Regions from separate parts of the Homo sapiens genome. Here region 1 is linked to region 2. Evidence: promoter capture Hi-C in human tissues and cell types (Jung and others, 2019). All regions are on one chromosome and are shown on one strand. The core of a region is centred on a gene start or on the middle of the fragment in contact, and the rest is flanking DNA. Distances in the headings are between cores, read along the strand shown.

The links. Contacts are between HindIII fragments. The study calls those that stand out against the background at their distance.
Region 1: a contact is called between the fragment with the promoter of XYLT2 here and the fragment with the promoter of ITGA3 in region 2, in 1 of the 25 tissues and cell types used here (IMR-90 fibroblasts).

What each region holds. Positions count from the first base shown.
Region 1 is chr17:50,344,582-50,348,046 of GRCh38, reverse strand. It overlaps XYLT2 (xylosyltransferase 2), which reads right to left and starts at 1,921. Exons shown (of 11, transcript NM_022167.4): 1 at 1,772-1,921. The coding sequence starts at 1,906. RefSeq lists silencers at 505-799, 1,615-1,704, 1,775-1,874, 1,935-2,134. The HindIII fragment of the contact is 7,409 bases long and covers 1-3,465 here.
Region 2 is chr17:50,054,233-50,057,513 of GRCh38, reverse strand. ITGA3 (integrin subunit alpha 3) reads right to left here and starts at 1,404. Exons shown (of 26, transcript NM_002204.4): 1 at 869-1,404. The coding sequence starts at 1,074. PICART1 (p53 inducible cancer associated RNA transcript 1) reads left to right here and starts at 1,775. Exons shown (of 3, transcript NR_038230.1): 1 at 1,775-1,885. RefSeq lists a silencer at 1,331-1,470 and an enhancer at 2,450-2,976. The HindIII fragment of the contact is 12,867 bases long and covers 1-3,281 here.

The DNA.
Region 1 (3,465 bases), core at 672-3,171, 290 kb before region 2:
CTGAGCATGTGCCAGGAACTCCTGCAAGTGCTTCACAGGCATCATTTTCACTTAATCTTTATAATCACCTAACACGGGAGGTGCCATTATTATCCCCATCTTGAGGAGGGATACTGATAAGGATAAGGGAGGAGGCAAAGTGATTTGCTGGTGGTCTTCTCAGGGTCAGAGCTGGAAGAGAGTGGTGAAGTGGGTGGTCCAGCTTCAGCACTCACCTTCCCATGCACCCCGTTATGCTGCCTGGCAACCCCAGAGTCAGGTGAGGGAGCAGCTGAGGGGGTCCAAGCAGCAATGGGTGCCTGGACCGCACAAGCTTTTTCAAACATTCCAGCCCAGGATTCCCCTATTCATTCAGCCAGGAAGCTGGAGGAGGAGGTGGTGGGGGATGGGGGCGGTAGCCCAGAGTGGTCACATATTCCAGGGTCAGAGGGCTCCCTAACTGCTTTGGCAGCCCATTCCATCTTGGAATGTCCCATCTGCCCAAACAGTCTTCTTACACTGGGCCTGAAACACTCTCCTACTTGCTTGTCCTACTTGTAGGTCTACACCCCACGGATGTCACGGAGCCAGCCCCACCCCCGCCCCCACCTCCTTTTGGAGTTATGGTCTCATGTGACTCTGTTCCAGCCCCCATCACCATCCCACCCTCTGGGTTCTCCCAAAAAAAGGCAAGGGCAGCTCTTCTGTCTCCACACCAGGCCTTCCAGACTGGCGAGATGCGGTAAGGGGTCGCGGGTATCGGGGCTTGCCGGAGGACAGCAGCAGATAGAGTCTCTGACCCGGAGCCCTGGAGGCAGCAGAACAGGGGCGCTGGGGGCAGGGAGGTCCTGACCTCTGGGCCACAGCTTAGGGCTGTGGTGTGGCCTGTCCTCTCCATCTCCGCAGCACGAACCCAGACCCAATGGACCCTTCCTCACCACACCGCTGAGGTGTCTGAGCCTCCCGCTGAAACCACATCGGGGAAGAGGGAGAAAGACCCTCGAGGCAGGGACTTGGGGGCTGAGACGGCTGTTGGTTGCCCCTGCTCTGCGGCTGGGGCTCTGTTACAGTCCCCATTCCCTTAAAGCCAGAGGGCCCCTCCCTAATTCCCTAAGGTCCTGAGGCCAACTCACCAGCTCAGTTCCTCCTCTCCCTGCCCTCCGGAGACCCATCCAGGTTCTTCAAACCCCCGGCTGAGGAAGCCACACCTCGGGAATACTCCAGTTCTCTCCTTCGGCGTCACTCCCTGTTCCTTCAGTTCCCGGGTACACACTTTGTCCCAGGCCTGAATTCCACCCCCGAGCTCCCCTTCCTCACCGGCCGCTGCCCCTCGGGCTCAGCTGGGGAAGGACGCCCTGAGTCCCTTGGCCCTACTCCTCCGCCCACGGCGCGCATATCCCCGCCCCCTCCCAACTTCAGAAAGTTTGGCCTGGGGCTCCCCACCTCCGAGCAGGTTCGGGCCCAGCCCCGCCTCCCAGCCCCGCTCGCCGCGCCTGACCTTCATCGCTCCCTTGGCCGGAGACCACCCTAGCATGACCTGCTCCCCCCGCCCGACTCCCAATCCACCAGGGCCCGGGTCTCCAGGTCACGCACTGCCCCCGCGCGCAGCTCCCTAGGCCTGCTGGGGAAGGGAGTGCCGGGGGCCGGATGCTCCGCTCTGGGCGACCGCCGGCGCCCCGCACGCACGCACGCGGCCCGTGCCCCACTTCCCCGGCTGGGGCCGCCCGCAGCCCCGCCAGGACCCCGCGCGCCCCCGCGCCCGGCCTGCCCGCCCGCCCGGCCGTCGGAGCACCTCGCCCGCCTCGTCCTCCTCCAGGCCGCTGAAGCTCCACACTACCAGGCCCTGCAGCAGCAGGATGGCCAGCGCCGTGGCAATCGCCAGCTTGTAGCGCCGCACCAGCTTCTGCACTCGCGCGCTCGCCACCATCTTCCTGCCCGGGACGCGGGGCGCGCGCCCAGCCCTGCAACCCGGCCGCGAGCGCGCGCACGGGCGCGGGGCTGAGCCGCCCCCCCTCCTCCACGCCTAGGGAGGCGGGCCGGGCGCGCGCCGGGGCGGGGCCGGGGGCGGGGCCTGCGGGGCCAAAGCACGGCGCACCGCAGGCTAGGGGTGGAGCCGGGGCTCGCAACACCTTCAGTCCCGGCAGTCGCGGGCGTGGGCTTGAGCGCGTGCCTTCTGCGCTCGTGTCTCCGCCGGTGCCCCTGGCTCCCACGTGTGCTCCCCTCCACCTGGACGGCGAGCGCCTGGTGCTGGGGAGTGGAGGGTCTGCGGCACAACCTCTCTTGCCTGGTGTCGGGGGTCGTGGGCGAGTTCAGTCCCACGCGGGTAAGCTCTCGGTCCCGGGGGCCCAGGGAACGCCAGGGCTCCCAGAGACGCCGCCTTGGGAGAGGGCGTGTGAGAGCCACAGGCGTCTGCTTAAAAACCTGGAGGCCGCACCTGCGGGGCAAAGTCTAACCCCTTGACTGGCATCAGAGAGCCTTCACGAATCCTCCTTTCCGCTCTGCGCTCATCCTAAGCATCCTCAGGCCGCTCCCAGAGTCGTGGTTCTCAAACTACTCTAGCGTGTGTTGGAGTCTCTTGGAGGTCTTGATAAAACAGATTTTTAGTGCCCCTCCTCCCTCCCCCAGAGTGTCTGCTTTGGTAGGTCGGTAGTGAGGCCTAAGCATTAGAATTTTCAGCAGGTTCCCAGGTGATGCTGATGCCTTTGCTCTGGGACCAAACTTGGAGAACCAGTAGACCTCGACACATGCTGCTCCCTCTGCCAAGTCCCCACCCCCTACACCATCAGTGGCATCCTCCCTGTGCGTCCCCAGCACTGTGCAGTGAGCACCAATCATACATCCGGTCGTGACTGCTCTGGGATCTCGCCCTGCCTTGGACACCCAGCAATGCTCAAGAAATGTTGCGGAAAGCAAGCAGGGGAGGCCCAGATTCCCGTCTAACCAGCTGTCCCTAACATTTGTTTGAGAACCCGGCGTGTTCAATGAGCACCGCATTGGACAAGGTCTAAGCACCTGCGGCCTTCCCTAAGCCTGGCAGGCCCATGGAGAGAGGGAAGGCGAGAAGAGCAAAACAGTGGCCACCAAAGCAAGGTGAATCCCCAGCTGGGGAAGCCAGGCACTGGGAGGAGGAAGTCATAAAAATAGCAAACACAAGTTAGAAGGTTTAAAGGGAAGACGTTAGGAACCACTACAGAGAGGTCTGGAAAGAGAAGTGGCTTACAAAAAAAAAAGTTTGAAAAGTTAGAAGGCCATGATGGAGGGGTTTGGAAGTTGCCACAAGGTTGGGTTGATGAGAGAATTCTAAACTGATGTGTACAGGATACACAAGCATTTGATGGTACATAAATAACCTCCTTTAATCGTCTTCTGCGCTTTAGCATTTGTAATCATTCTGTTCCTCCGCGTTTGTTAAATGGGAGAATTGTAAACTATGTTTCCGACGACAGTTTGGCTACTTAAGAGAGCCTACACTTCAATGATTTTGGA
Region 2 (3,281 bases), core at 155-2,654:
GCGTCTGGTGGAGTGAGGGGGACCCAGGAGGCTGGGTGCAACCTCCTCCTCCTTCCTCCACTGTGCATAGCTCTTCCCCTCCTCCTTGCAGCTGTTGGGGAAGGAGAACAGAAGAAAGAGAAAAACACTGTTTCCCTCTTCAAACCAAAACAAACACACTCAGGGTTGAAGATCCAACACGAATCTGTGGAATGCAGGGAAGATGTCTGCGGGGAGAGTGCCACTGCTTGCGGGTGGGCAGGAGGAGACCCAGCCAGAGTTGGGACAAGTCCTCCTCTCTCTTTCACCGCCCCTATCCTCAAGGCGTCAGAGGGAGCGTATGGACAGCTCCAAACGCCCAGACTCACCCATCGCCTCACCCTCCATCCGCCAAGCCAGCGGTTGAGAAGGCCATCCAGTCTGGCTCTGCAGAGGGTGTGGCTGGCGTGGCCGCAGACTACCAGCGAGGTGCTTAAATGTATATGCTCATTTTTCCCCCAAGCGTACGGGAAGGGGGGAGTCCGCTGGGTGTTTATCTTGCAGTTTACCCCAGCTCCCAGCCCTGGAGAGAACAGGCTAGTGCTGGGTACTCGGTTCACAGAATGGGAGAGGACTCAGCCACCGGGACCCCACTTCCGCTCTCATGAGAGATCTAAAGGGCGGAGGGGTGGCGTCCAGACAGGTTCTGGCCCCGTCAGCACTTGCCAATGATTACTGCCCGACCCCACACCCAATCCTCCACTTCCCGCCAACCCCCAGCAGCCAGAGGGCCGCCCCTTAATCCTGGCTCCCAAGGGCCAGCTGCCCTGGGCTCCGACTCAGCTCCGGACCCGCATCCCGCGCTCGCACACTCTCTCGCTCCCACCCCACACCCTCCAGCTTCACTTACAGGTAGCGCTGCTGCCGCTCTGTCTGCCGATGGAGGGCGACCGAGTAGCCGAAGAGGCTGCCCGGGTTCCCGGCCTCCTTCACTACCAGGAATCGGGTATCCAGGTTGAAGGCGGAGACGACGCAGCCGCCGGCCGCCACCATCAAGGCGAGCGCACAGAGCATCAGGCGTGGGGCGCGGGGCGCGCGGCTGGGGCCGGGGCCCATGGCTGCCAGCGGAAGCGGGGTCCCGGCGAGAGCGCGTGAGGGCGCGGAGCTGGGCGTGAGGACCTGTTCACCTGCTCCCCGCGCCGCCGGAGGACACTGGAACCCGCCGGCCGCTGCGCTCCGTAGCGCTGATCGGTTTCGTGCCCCCAGCCCCAGCCAGTTTCACAGCTGCGCTCTCGGATCCCTTCCTAAGATCCGTGGGTCTATCTTCCTGCCTCCCCAGCGGCCGGGTCGCCGCCGTCCCTGCCCCGGGCAACCGGCCCCCAGCTTGTCCCGGCCGCGCCCCCTTGGCCGCGCTGTCGCCTTCGATCCCGGCTTCGCGGCGGATCTGGCAAGCGCACCGGTCGACCGCAAGGAGGACAGGAGGGAGGGGTCCCCCGGCGCGCGCCCCGCCTCCCCACGCCCAGTCCCGCACCTCCCCACCTTGCGAGCCCAGCCCGGGCTGCGCTTTCCTTCCGGGGAAAGAGAAAAAGATCCCGGCTCGGCCGCCTCCTCTTAAAGGGGCAGCACCGCCCCTCCCTCCTCATCCTCCCTACCCCAGCTCCGCCTTCTCCCCCAAACACCTGTCGGCAACCCCCAAAGGCTTAGATTTCCCCTCCCCGCCCCTCGCTTCTCCGAGAAAGCGTCGCCTGGGGAGCAAGATGGATGTGACGGGCGGGGCCGGGGGTGGGATTTGTCTGGCCGCTTTCCTGCGGCTGCTGCTGCTGCTGCTGAAAAGGCCAGCCGGGCTGGAGAGACCTGGCATTGGCGCATCTGGGAACCGACGTCCGTGCGCGGCTGGCTAGAATGCTGGACTCGCCTCCGCAGCGCTGTGAGTCCCCAAGAGGTGGCTGGCGGTCTCTGGGAGTTCTTCCTCGCACTCAGGCCCCTCGCTGTCTTTGCCGAGATTTATTTCTCCTATCCACTCACCCTGATCCGAGCTGAGATTGGCTCCTCAGCAAAGACAGACATATTTAGCAGTGGTAACAACCAAATGTCGCTAATTATAATTACCAAAAAGCATTTTTCCCCCTAAGTGCTGCGACTTCTGGTATCAAAGGCTAAGACTGTCAATGTAGAAATGAGTCCGTCCTTCACAGAACGCACTGCGTAGCCGGGAAGCTGAGCCTAGACCGTATCCATTTCTCGTCCACTCCTGCCTTCAGGGCCCAGCCCAGCAGAATCCCAGAGGCTCCCTCTTCCCACCCAAGCTCGAACAGAGTGTTTGGAGACTGGGCTCGGACGTCAGCACCCATCAGGTGTTTGGTGGGTAGGGCCAGGTGGCAGTAAGTGGGCGGAGACTAAAGGTCTCCTCCACCAAGGAATCAAATCGAAAGGGAACTTCAAGAGGTTACTCTGGCCAGGCGCAGTGGTTCACGCCTGTAATCCCAGCACTTTGGGAACCCGGGGAGGGCGGATCACGAAGTCAGGAGTTCGAGACCAGCCTGGCCAATGTGGGGAAACCCTGTCTCTACTAAAAAAATACAAAAATTAGCCGGTCGTGGTGGCGGGCGCCTGTAGTTCCAGCTATTTGGGAGGCTGGGGCAGGAGAATCGCTTGAACCCGGGAGGCGCAGGTTGCAGTGAGCCGAGATCGCGCCACTGCACTCCAGCCTGGGTGACAGAGTGAGACGTCGTCTCAAAAAAAAAAAAGAGGTTACTATGTACTTTCTTGGATCTAACTCACATTTCTCTTATTGCAGCTCAGAGACCCATTTTCCCCGGAACATTGTTTTTTTGTTTTGTTTTGTTTTGTTTTTGAGACGACGGAGTCTCGCTCTGTCTCCCAGGCTGGAGTGCAGTGGCGCGATCTCCGCTCACTGCAACCTCTGCCTCCGGGGTTCAAGCGATTCTCCTGCCTCAGCCTCCTGAGTAGCTGGGATTACAGGCGCCCACCACCATGCCCGGCTAATTTTTGTATTTTTAGTAGAGACGGGGTTTCGCCGTGTTGGTCAGGCTGGTCTCGAACTCCTGACCTCGTGATCCACCCCGCCGCCTCCCAAAGTGCTGGGATTACAGGCGTGAGCCACCCTGCCTGGCCTCCCCGAGCATTCTTTTCTCCATCTATTCTTAAAATAATAAGAACAAAACACCATGTATTAAGCACATACGCAGCAGGAACTATGCTAAATGCTTCACAAATGTTAAATCCTCACAACAATCTTTGAAGTGTTATCTCTGTTTTAAAACGAGAAAAATGAGGCTCAGGGAGGTTAGGCAATTTGGCAG